Regions from separate parts of the Homo sapiens genome. Here all the other regions are linked to region 2. The links are contacts of gene promoters, found by promoter capture Hi-C in human tissues and cell types (Jung and others, 2019). All regions are on one chromosome and are shown on one strand. The core of a region is centred on a gene start or on the middle of the fragment in contact, and the rest is flanking DNA. Distances in the headings are between cores, read along the strand shown.

The links. Contacts are between HindIII fragments. The study calls those that stand out against the background at their distance.
Region 1: a fragment that was not itself captured here is called in contact with the fragment with the promoter of SLC40A1 in region 2 in 3 of the 25 tissues and cell types used here (IMR-90 fibroblasts, mesenchymal stem cells and psoas muscle).
Region 3: a fragment that was not itself captured here is called in contact with the fragment with the promoter of SLC40A1 in region 2 in 2 of the 25 tissues and cell types used here (mesenchymal stem cells and spleen).

The regions. Positions count from the first base shown.
Region 1 is chr2:189,539,702-189,544,019 of GRCh38, reverse strand. No RefSeq gene overlaps it. Among named protein-coding and RNA genes, the nearest start is that of SLC40A1, 39 kb to the left of the region's middle. The HindIII fragment of the contact is 6,237 bases long and covers 1-4,318 here.
Region 2 is chr2:189,578,325-189,582,528 of GRCh38, reverse strand. It overlaps SLC40A1 (solute carrier family 40 member 1), which reads left to right and starts at 1,743. Exons shown (of 8, transcript NM_014585.6): 1 at 1,743-2,111; 2 at 2,649-2,716. The coding sequence starts at 2,069. RefSeq lists silencers at 1,490-1,659, 1,730-1,789. The HindIII fragment of the contact is 17,191 bases long and covers 1-4,204 here.
Region 3 is chr2:189,613,612-189,617,757 of GRCh38, reverse strand. No RefSeq gene overlaps it. Among named protein-coding and RNA genes, the nearest start is that of SLC40A1, 35 kb to the right of the region's middle. The HindIII fragment of the contact is 4,571 bases long and covers 1-3,665 here.

The DNA of each region.
Region 1 (4,318 bases), core at 23-2,522, 38 kb after region 2:
CTCATCCCTGGTTCATTCCAATTTTCTGTCTAATGTCTTTCAGAGGCAAAGATAAAAGCAGAAGGCTTCCATTGGCAAGTTTTTAAACTTCAAATGACTGGCCATTTAGGCTGTTGTTCAAGTCAGTTAAAGGACAGAGGAAGAATGGTGTGACCGCTTGTGATGAAAGGGTACTGAGTGAAGAGGGCAGCCATGAATTGCAAGCTCCAAGTCCATAGTAATCCGTAGCTGGCTCTTCACCCTCAGCATTTGAGAACACAGCGAAAGTAGGAGTGGTACAGAACTGCAGACCCCATTCTACTTCTAACAGAGGCAGAGGCTACTATGCCAATTCTGTCCTGGAAAGTAGACCTTCTGTGGACAGATTTTTTTTTCTATTTTCTAAGAGAGGTCTGAAAGATTTTTTTTTAACCTCAAAACTTCTGCTTTTAAATGGTGGAAACTGTATCAGCCTCCTATTGATGTTGTAACAAGTTACCACAGACAGTGGCTTAAACAATACAAATTTACCATCTTATAGTTCTGGAGGTCAGATGTTTGTCATGGGTGGAAATCAGGGTGTTGGTGGGCTATGCTCCCTTCTGAAGCTCTGCAGATGAATCCATTTCCTTGCCTTCTCTGGTTTTTAGATGCCACCTGCATTTCTTGGCTTGTGGCCTCCACCACTACCTTCAAAGCCAGCAGCATAGCATCTTCGCATCTCTCTGTCTCTGACCCTCTGCTTCCTTGATCACCTCTATTTCTCTCACTCTGATTCTCCTTCATCCTTCTTTCCCTTATATGGACCCTTGCGATTCCATCGGGCCCACCTGATTAATCCAGCATAACCTCCTCACCTCAAGATCCTTAACTTATTCTCATCTGCAAAGTCCCTTCTGCCTTGGAAATAAGCATATTCCCAGGTTCTGGGTTAGGACATGGACTTCTGGAGGGGACTATTATTCTGTCTGCCTCAGAAACTGATTCCCTCTCTCTCTTTCTCTCTTCTTTTTAAATGCAGCCCCAAATAAAACATGTTTGTGGCTACCACTTTGTGATTTCTAGTTACACTCTGGCTATCCCATCCCTAAGAGTGAATGTCTGTCCTTTAGAGATATGTGTATATTGGCTGACAGTCATTCACAGGATAATAGCTGAAGAAAGAGGAATGTCTACAGCTTTCATTAATGGGAAATTCTCAGAGAGGACCCAGACATGACGTTTACCTGGGATGGCACCACTTTGGACTGCCCAGCTGGAGCACCTCTGGAATTTATTCTAGATGGAATGACTCAGGGTTACTAACCCATGAGGGAAGGATGACCACTGAGGTTAGGGGTGAGGGTTTACAAAGGTGGAGGTTTGCATCTAGAGATTACATAAGGAGCAGAGATTACACCAGAAAGGTGCAGACAGGGCAACAGGTTATGAGTTGGGGAGAGTTCACGCAGGAACCACTGCAAGGCCTTCAACTTGCTGGGTGCTTTGCCCCTAGACTATCTCTCTTAGACTAAACTACTGCTTTTTCTGCCCAGTTCCTTTGGTTATCTTGCCAATCAGTAACAACTGATATACCTGTACTGCTTTGTAGGATGACAATGTGGGAAACAAATAGGTTGGGCAGAAAAAAGAAAAAAAAAAAAACCAGCCTTTCCTGTTGCTGGCCCCATGTGAAGGAAAGGCGGCCTCCATCAATGAAGACAATGTTTGCACGTTCTAGATGGTTCCCGGCTGCAGAGTGAGTCATGACGATGCCAGAGTAACTCCCTGGGTTCAGGAAAGATATGAGGGACAAAGCTCATTCCTCAATATACAAGAGGGAGGTGTCTCAGTGCAGAGAGAGGCAGGTGGAAGGACAAGGCTAACCCAGGTTAAAGTCATTTGTGACATTTTACATGCTTGCTGGGATAACTCCACTAATCAGACCACTAACATTTGCTTTTGGCTAACAGTTTGAAAGATTCACATATTGGTTTTTGACAAGATTTCAGTAAAATTCATGGAATTTACTAGAATAAACACTAGTTCCTGTCATATTTTCCACTTCATAAATCAGCAGAATAATTTTTCATTCACACCTAGCTGACCCGTGGTCATAGGTGACCTCTTTTAGGTCATAGTTTCCTCTTAGTTCTCGGAACTTCAACTCTTGCTGCTTTTTCCTAGGGAGGATCTTGGGTACAGATACTACCTGGCACGATGAATGTGGCATTAGCCGTCCTCATAACAACAATCTGATAAATCAGTCCCTTGGCAACTTGTGTGGATCTGGCAAAGAGGTAATGGGAACAAGGACTGGGCAATGTTTTCATCATGATTTATGATCTTCCCAGGACAAAGCTGAAGCGGGTCAGGTCAAGCTGAACCAGAATCATGTCTGACTGGAGTTTTCTTGTCTGTTGGCAAAAAAACACTGCTTTCTATCTGATTCCAACAAGTATTAGACATTTTACTGACAATGCGTGTATGCACACTGCAAACACAATGTGAAGAAAGACATTGTCTTATTCATGGTTGTAACCCCAGCACCTCACTTAGCAGAGGTCAGGTTTGCTCTCAGTAAAGAAATTACATATAAGTGGAGTTGGCTGCGGTCATGCAGCACCTGTGTCACCTCAGGCAAGATACTCAACCTGTTAAAAAGAAAATAACATCTATCTCCCAACAATCTTCTAAGGATTCAGGGAAATCGTGGATGTGAAGGTATTCTGTAGCTCTGAAGTGTCATATAAATGTCTTCAGCAATTATTATATGCAATTTGAGTTAGATTTTACCTTTTCTGTGTACTATTTTCTTTAAGAGAAGACACTGATAATTTCATTGATTAACTAGCCTACGTGCCTTCTAAATGGTTACAATTCTTATCTAAGGGCATCTCAGCTAACTAAGCAGCACAGGGCCCACGTCATTTTTTTTAAAAGTTGTTTTGAAATTTTTTCTTGGAAAAAAGAACAGAACTGAAGTCCACATCCATATCAAACAGCATATGTGACACCCAGCAGGAAAAACTCATAAATATCTGCTGGAGTCAATCGAGGATGGAGATTTGGGGTTGTTTTATACATTAGTGATTTTATGGAAGGACTGATATTATTAATCTCATTAAAGAAGGTATGAGCAAACCTCCTCTTACTAAAACAGAGTTAATTGGTTTGAAGAAACCAAGCTGAGATATTTTGGAGGCAGGAACAGATTCAGTCATTGACCAAGTATCACCCATGCCCAAAGGCACTGATTTACTTGTTGCTGAAAACAACTGGAACACTTCACGCTCCACCTTATTATGAACTAGAACAATGAAGTTTTATGAAACTCCTCCAACTTACCAAGAAGCTGGTGAACCAGTCTGTCTGAGTCATAGACTATCTCTGAGTTTGGCAGAACTTAGGCCATTGCTTCTTAATTTTGGTTTCTTTGTCAATTTTTCATAATTAATTCATGTTCTCCTCAGGCCACAAATCTCTACCTGTTATTAAACTGGTTGTTTGACTGATTTAATTGAGTGATTTGCATTTGCTCTTCTTATCCTTTTGGTCGTTAGGAGGGAGTTAATTTTGTAACAAAGCTTCATTGTTGCCTGGTTGACTCTGGAGTTATCTTCGGCCTGCCTGAAGCACAGTGTGCTGCTGTGAGAGGTACCCCCTTCCTTATGGGACTGTAGATTTATGGGAAACAGTGATTATTGCTGCAGTTTTATCCCCAGCATTAAGGGAAGCTTAGTGGTTAGCAAAGGAAGAACGTGAATTTTGGAGGCCAGAAAAAAATGATCTTAAATACTAGTTTGACATTTTTCTTGAGTGAACATTGTCACATTATTTTACGTATGGATTATAATAGACCCTTGAAATATTTAAGGAACAATCTTGAGGCATGGGAATACTCAAATGCAAGAATACTACCCGAATATTTCTGGAGAGCTACAATAGAGAGGTGAGAATACAAACTCAAGCTGAAATAGGGGTGCTCAGAATAATTCCATCTTACTCCCTGATTAATGACTTGCTCAACTACTTCAGCTTTCAACTTGGCATCAGCAAGCATCAAATGAATGCTTTTTTTTTTTTTTTTGAGACGGAGTTTTGCACTGTTGTCCAGACTGGAGTGCAGTGGCACGATCTTGGCTCACTGCAAGCTCTGCCTCCCGGGTTCACACCATTCTCCTGCCTCAGCCTCCCAAGTAGCTTGAACTACAGGGGCCCACCACCACGCCCGGCTAATTTTTTGTACTTTTAGTAGAGACAGGGTTTCACCATGTTAGTCAGGATGGTCTTGATCTCCTGACCTCGTGATCTGCCCGCCTTGGCCTCCCAAAGTGCTGAGATTACAGGCGTGAGCCAC
Region 2 (4,204 bases), core at 494-2,993:
AAAAGCCACCTGGAAGTTGGGGACAGCATGACACCCCTTCTTATAATATGTAATAATTAATGTAAAGCACTTGGAGGTCCTTGTTGCTGAGACACACTCTGACAAATGTGCAAACTATCACTATCCTTTGTGCCTTGTTGAGGACCTGTCAAAAAATTCATCTCTAATAAGGGATCGCCATAAAGTGGAGGGGTTTATTTACCAGTTCACTCCTTCACTTTAGTTCACTCATCTGAGTATACTTTGGTTTATTCTCAAGGATGCATGTATAAATGACCCTATTCTCCACGGTTAGCAAACCAAAACCTCTCTAAATTGGGAGAAAGAACTTGAATGTCGTGTGAAAGAAAGGAAAAAAGAGGGCTTGAAAAGGCAAAAAGCAGTGAAAAGCAGTAGTTAAACTGTAACCCCTATCTCTACTCACCAGACCACATCCCAACCGAATCCAGCTGCACCCACCCCGTAGACCTTTGGGGCTCCTGATTGAGAGTGCAGATACAGGGCACATACTCATGCGTGGCTCCCTTCACTACTGGGTGTCAGTCTGGCCTGTGCTCAAGGTGTGGCATCTGGTTGGAGTTTCAATATGTAGGATCCACTACCAGGGTTTTCGTGAGATTAAGAAGGGTAAGGTAACCTACTGGCAAAAGGGGCTGGTATGCCCCAGGGGTTGGTTTGGCACAGCAGGATTAAAACGAAGTCAACCAAGGCTAGAGTCTGGTGTTCTTTAGTCATTCACCTCACCCTCCAGGAGGCCACCGAATGGCTTTATCTGGACAGGGACAGATCCAGGGACACAACTGGGATAACCGGTATTCCTGGTAAGCCTGTCACTGGGGCATTTGGAGGTTAGGTGGGGAAGGGACGCGCGCGTGGGGGCGGGGTGAGAGGGTACAGAGGGAGAAGGAATGATGGTGAAGGGTTTGCTGGGGCTGCAGCATCCTCATTCTGTCTCCAGGACGGATTTGGAGGCCCCAGTTTGGGGATACGGGTAGGTCTGTAACTCGCTGCGGGACTTCACCTTTGCAAGCCTCCGTTTGCTCCTCTCAAGAGGGATGGACTCTGATCTTTGCGCCCCCTTCCTGCCCTTTGATTCTGGTTCTTTGAGGGAAGCCCTGCTATGCAGTCCGGGGAAGGAAAGGCATTCTCTGCTGCAGGCGGGCCGGAATGGGACGGCCAGGAAAGCGGCCTCTGTGGCATGAATTATATTTATTTAGATACCTGTATTAAAAATTATTTTCGTTAAAAAAGGAATCCCCACCCACCAAGCTCGCGCTGGAGCTTTGCACTGCGACCGTCCGGCGGCCGCCCTTTCCCTGAACTGCGGGGTAGCCGGTGCGCAGCGCTTTCTTCCAGCACCTGACGCTTAGTTTCGCGCAGAATCTCCCTACGCCGCCCCGCCGGCTCCACGCGCCTTCCTCCTTTTCCCAGCCCCACGGCCGCCCCCCGAGGTTGCCCTCGCGGCTTCCCGGAGAGCAGGAAAACCCGGGGAGTGGAACGCGTCGAGGCGAAGGTCCCCGCAAGCCGCGCAGGGTGTCTGCGGCCGGTTGGACGCTTGCGCCCGGGGTGGGCGACTCCTCCGGGCAAGGGCGCGGGGACGGCCCGGCGCGCAAGGTTGACGGGAGCTCGTCTCGCGCCGCGGGGACGCCCGGGCGGCCCTGAAGGGGACGGGGCGGCCCCAGTCGGAGGTCGCAGGGAGCTCCGCCCCCGACTCGGTATAAGAGCTGGGCCCGGCCCACGGCGGCGGCGGCGGCGGCGGAGAGAGCTGGCTCAGGGCGTCCGCTAGGCTCGGACGACCTGCTGAGCCTCCCAAACCGCTTCCATAAGGCTTTGCCTTTCCAACTTCAGCTACAGTGTTAGCTAAGTTTGGAAAGAAGGAAAAAAGAAAATCCCTGGGCCCCTTTTCTTTTGTTCTTTGCCAAAGTCGTCGTTGTAGTCTTTTTGCCCAAGGCTGTTGTGTTTTTAGAGGTGCTATCTCCAGTTCCTTGCACTCCTGTTAACAAGCACCTCAGCGAGAGCAGCAGCAGCGATAGCAGCCGCAGAAGAGCCAGCGGGGTCGCCTAGTGTCATGACCAGGGCGGGAGATCACAACCGCCAGAGAGGATGCTGTGGTGAGTGTCGTTGACCGAAAGCATATGGTGGAAACCCAGGTGGGGCTTTGGAGACAAGCAACTCTACACGAGTTCTGGAGGAATGTGGCTCTGCTGTGAACCATAGCTTTGTAAAAAGATCCTTTGACTCATATTTGGTGGACGTTAAGGAAGAAAGGAAATTCAGGGTGTGGGAAAAGGGGTTTGCACACAGGCACGGATGGAGTAGATTGGGCAGTTTGGATTGCCTTGTGTAAAAAAGAAACAAAACAAACAAACCAACCAACCCAAAAAAGAATGCTGAAACAAGAGTTTCTTCACTGTATGTGAAATGTGAAGTTGGGCAGTTATTGACTAGGTCAATAACTGAATTTAGTGAATGGTATTAAGTGAACGAAATACATCGGTTCATAGGTAACTTGATAAAATGTACGTGGTTTGTCCTGCAAAGTAGTTTTTAATAATCATGTTCTAATGAGATCAAATGGATAAGCATTCTGCCCTCAGCTCATTAAGTGACTACCATCGCTTTTTGTCACCCCGCCTGTGTCTTTGCAGGATCCTTGGCCGACTACCTGACCTCTGCAAAATTCCTTCTCTACCTTGGTCATTCTCTCTCTACTTGGGTAAGTGAGAATGCATAGTCTTACAACACAGTTGCGCAATTTTTTATTTCCTTTCGTTCTAGCCAGTTGTATTAAGCCAACTTCCAGTTTTGTCAAGCAGTTAAAGAAATAAATCATCCAAGTACACATGCTTTAATGAAAACGTTATTTACATCGAAGATCTTTCCCCATGAGTGTTAGTTAATGCAACTTAATTATCAGATCATCGTAGTTTATGTAGATAGACAACTATCCAGACAAGATTATCAAGGAAAGGAATATTTGCCTTGTTTTTAAATTTTATGTTGCATTAGTAGCTTTGGTAAATAGACATATCTGCTACAAAAGATGGATGGATGTCTCATATACCTTCTCTTCTTCACATTTTAAAATATTTTGTTTTCTTTTTTTGTTAAAATTTAGTTCCAGCGTGCAGCACCATGAGAATACAATAGAATGGTAGAGTGACTGACTTAAGCTAATAATAACATTCTAAGATTAATTGAAACATAAATGACCCCCAGAACAAATATCTGAGTGACAAAAATTCTGGTCTTTAAAAATGTTATCTATAGTTAGATAAAGTTTGGGGCAGTGGAGGCTATCTTAAAATTAATCATCCAATGAATATCAGCAATGGATTTACAGTTTTCCCTCTGACTTTCTAGGTTGTCCTGGAAAAGACCTAGTGTTTCTGTAGATCTGGGCTCCTAAAACTCTCTCCGAAAAATAATAAACTAGAAGGGTGCTAGATATATGTTCAGTGATGATTAGAATCTTTAACATTAAACAATTATTGTTTAAAAGCAATAAATCTGGCTATATTCTGTCCATGGCTCATATGTATTTAAAAAGAATGGAAAGAATTTTGAGAGTAAATTTTTTGAATGTTATTTTCCTTTTAAATTGGAAACTTATATTGGATCATCCTTAAGACATGGATGGAAACCACTGGAAGAGGAAATCTATACCCAATACCTTTGAGAAATTGTTAAGCTACATTATTGGTTCTCTAAGAAATAGCAGTTTATAGATGACATTTTAGAAAAGCAAGCTCCTATCTTACCAGAGGCTTACACAGGGGTGACTCTGCAAATACATGTAAACAAAGTGGAATTGGTGTGAGTTTGTTTTAATTCCAACAGCTGATGATGCTAAGTAGAAACCTAGTGAAACAACCCTTAATAAATAAAAAGCAATAGTTTGTTCCCCCAGTTTAATTCAGTAAATATTAAGTATTAATAACATGTGATGGGAATAGTATCTGAAATTCTCAGCCTGTGGTCTGGCCTTGCTCTTAGAGGAAGAAGATGCCTCTCTTCCAAGTTCTGATTATGGTTTATGTGACCTTTGGTTAATAGGTTAGGAGGTCAGATTTGCCAGAAAACCAGTGGCACCGTGGTTGTTCCAGGAGGATATTTTGTCATGTTCATTAAAAGTCCCACAAGAAAGGTGACACATGCTTATCCCAACTTTACAGTAAGTCAAGCAAAGGAAGTTCTCATGAGA
Region 3 (4,146 bases), core at 131-2,630, 36 kb before region 2:
CATTTCCTTCAGTTATCTGCTGATTATGACCTCATTAGGGTGAACTGTCTGAGCGCCAGAATTATTAGGGAGATTTTTACAAACATGCAGATCCCCAGACCTACTCCAGATCTTTTAGGGACAGGATTCAGGAATCTGACCCTGGTGTTGTGTTTGGGACGCACTGCAGCAAATGAAAGAATTCTGAGATTACTTGGGTTCTTTGAGCCTTACCATGATCATCAATTTCTCTGAGCATTGTCTTCCCAATCTGTAGAATGAAGAAACAAGGCCAACTTTGCCCACCTCACAGGTGTTGTGAGGCTGATGCCTGTGAAAACATTTTGGCAAAATGCTTTACTATTATCATTTTCAAGGAAAGGAAATTTAGAATAGGTATTTTTATTCTGCCAGGCAAATGGAGCTTGCAAAGTACAATTGTCACAAACACACAAAATTCTCTCAAATACAGATTGTATGGGATATGTTTGCACAGACTCATTGCCATTGCTGGGCCTGGATCTCAACCTAGTGATAGCAGTCAGTCTTGAGAGTAGTACAGGAAATTCTTTGCTGGCATCCCCATCACAATTCCAAACCTGTACAACAAAGCTTGAAGATATTTTAACAAAGCAAAAACCTTTCATTCCATGATTAAAGATAAGACTCAAAACACATTTCATGAGGGTAACAGGTTTACTCAGACTGACCCAATAGTCACATTGACTGAAGCCTTCTTCCTCAGTCCCCATTTGACAGTAGCTTTGGAAAGCGCTGCTACAAGGAAAACAGCAGAGCTGATGGCAAGCATTTTTATACAGTCTTGTTTATTTCCCTCTGTGTGTGTGTATATATGTTTATATACACACACAGAAATACAAATATATATATGCATATGTATATATACATATCTGCATCTTCTAGAACTCCCATCTTTCCCCTTGCCAATCAAGCCCAAATTCAATGAAATTATTGTATAGAAATAGTTAATAAAATCTGTTAGCTAATAATATTAACAGAATGAGAACCCAGATTTTAGTTACTAACTTTGGAGATATTTCAGCTTTAAAGCTGTGAGGAAAAACATTGAGAGAGTCTTTATGTAGATCTACCTGATTTGAGTACTGTGAGCATCCAGGTAGAGTAATAGGGGATTGAGGCCTAGGAACTTGGAGAGAAAGAGGTCAGGAAAAATGTATCAAATATACAGGGCGGCTGAACCCAACAGCAGGCTAGGACCCAAGGAAAGAGTCTGGAAACACCTCCTGCTGGAGCCTGGGAAGAGAATTTAAGACAATCTAGTGTCCACCTGTCTTCACACTGCCCTGGGACATGAAGAAGGGGCTCTGGCCTCATTTGGGAGCTGCGAAAAAGAGGGAGAAAGATTGACACGGAGTATGGGGATCGAATGGCCAGTGACAACCAAGAACTGGGAGGATAGTTTAATAAAAAGTGGCAAGTGACAATAAAACAGGCAGGACTCGAAGGAGCTCTCAAAAATACCCAGAAGGAGACTCATTTTCTTGTGGGCAAGCAAATGAGGGTTTGAACGATGTTTATTTGGTTGTTAATGAAAAGGACTGCCCAGAAGGCTGGAAAATATAAAGCACTCTGGTTACATTTGTATTAGCTAAAACATTCTATATGTAATTATGAGATGTATTCTCAATGAAACGGAAGTTACATTGTGACTACATACAGCTTTATAGAAGCCTGACATATGGCAACAACTTGTTAAAACCATTCTAACTTCTTTACTTGAAGAAAGAAAACTAACTACTCTCTCTATAATTGGAGTCCTTGTATCTCCTTTGTGCTTCTACATATCCCCTGGAGAATGAGGAAAAGGAGCTCAGAGGGGGAAGAGAACTAATATTTATTGAGCACCTCCTAATTCCCAAGATGCTTTATAGACATTGTCTTCACTTAATCCAGAGCAACCCTCAGAAAGAGTTACTATAAATCCCGTTTTATGGGGCAAGAAATTGGGGCTCAAGGTCAACTCGCCCAAAGTTACATAGTGTTTCTCATGCTTGAGTAAAGAACAGACTCCTTTTATGACTATCACCAAGAATATGTCAAGTCCTTGGTTTAAAACACACTGATTTATGGCATAATTCATGAAAGCATCTTTCAGTTATGAATTATCACTATAAAAGAAAATTTTCATTTATGTAAGAGTAAACAATAATTTTATTTTATTTATTATTATTATTATTTTTGAGATGAGGTCTCTCTCTGTCACTCAGGCTGGAGTGTAGTGATCTTGCAACCTCCACGTCCCAGGCTCAAGTGATCCTCTCACCACAGCTTCCTGAGTAGCTGGGACTACAGGCTCGCACCACCACACCTGGCTACTTTCCTTTTTTTTCTTTGTTAAGAGATGGGGTTTCTTCATGTTGCCCCTGGCTAGTCTTGGACTCCTGGACTTAAGTGACCAGCCAGCTTCAGCCTCCCAAAGTGTTTGGATTACAGGCATGAGCCACCGCGCCCAGCCGTAAACAATAATTTTAAATACCATCATTGAATTGAAAACAGCCACATGCACACACACACACACACCCCAAAATTCAAAATACAAGGATCTGAGAATGTCTTCAGACCCTTAGATGTGAAGAAACCCTTGGGAAACATTATATTTTTACCATGCTCCCATTATTCAGGCATCAATAAGAGGATTGAGCTATGCTGTACAATAATAAGTAGACTGTAAGATCGTTAGAACTCAGTTTTAAGCTTATAATCTGCAACCAGACATGAAAATCCATATTCCTGATTTCTAGTTAGCACACAAACTTCCACATTGTATAGCCAAGTTGTTGCAAAGCTTTGCCAAAATGGGTCAGCCTCAGAACATTAATGTTATGACACCCTTACACAGTGTAAGGCCATTATTTTTGGACCTAGTTTCATCCAGGGTGCTTCCTGCTTCCATAAGCATGTTCAACTGGTTTGAACAGTCATAGACCCTTGCTGGCAGGTTGATCTCTCCCTTCTTTTCCTCCCCCTCACAGATCTGTCTTGCACTAGGCTCAGTGTAAACAAACTAGTTAAAACTGGCTCTCCATATATCCTACGCTTTAGGAGCAATTTCATATAAAGTCGTCCCTCCATGTCCAATGGGGATTGGTTCCAGGACGCTCCTCAACACCCCGATACCTAAATCTACAGATGCTCAAGTTCTTTATATAAAATGGTATTTGCATTTAACCTACACATACCCTTCTATATGCTTTAAAGCATCTCTTGATTACTTAAAATACCTAATACAATGTAAATCCTATGTAAATAGTTATTAAACTGTATTTTTAAAATTTGTATTACTTGCATTGTTATATTGTTATTTTTAAATTTGGGGGGAATATTTTCCACCCGTTGTTAGTTGAATCCTTGCATGCAGAATCCATGGATATGGAGGGCCAACTGTACAAATCCCAGGATAAAACTCACATGATACAAACTTAAGTCTAAGAACAAATGGGCCCCTTTAAACAGGAATTTCCTTTATCCCAGAGACTGTGCAGCCCACTTTACCAAAGATGTGATTTGGCAGTCTCCCAGAACTTCAATATGATCCCTCTTTGCACTGCTAGAGACAGAATAAATATGTATGATAAAAATGCATGTGATAACTAAAATAAATGGAGGTAGCAGAGCCTAATTGCATTTCCAATAGGAAAGAGCTAGTCATGAAACCATAAAGACATGAGTTTTTTTTAATAGCAAAATGGGAATTGTAGTTTACAGCCCCCAAAAGTATGTTTTCAATTGCTTTCTCTGCATTATTAAAGGTTGACTTTCTGACCTAAGGGTCCTTTGCCATCTAAAATGTCTAAACATGCCAGTTTAAATATATGGTGTCAGCAAAAAATGAAAACCAAACTGTATATTTTTTTCCTCTCACTAGTGAGAGCTGAGCTAGCTGTTCTCACATGCCCACTCCGGCAGGGAAGCTGAAAGCAAGTATGTGAGAGGGAAGGAGTGGTATCAAGGCTCACACATGCCTGCAGATGCCATAGCTGGCTTTTGAATTGTGGTGATTCACATGTTATTATTATAATGGAACTTCACCAACTGATTTCAACTGAAAAAAAATAGTTTGGTTATATATGACTCTTTCACCTCTATCTAGGGAAGATAATGCATATTAAATTAGTCCATATATGA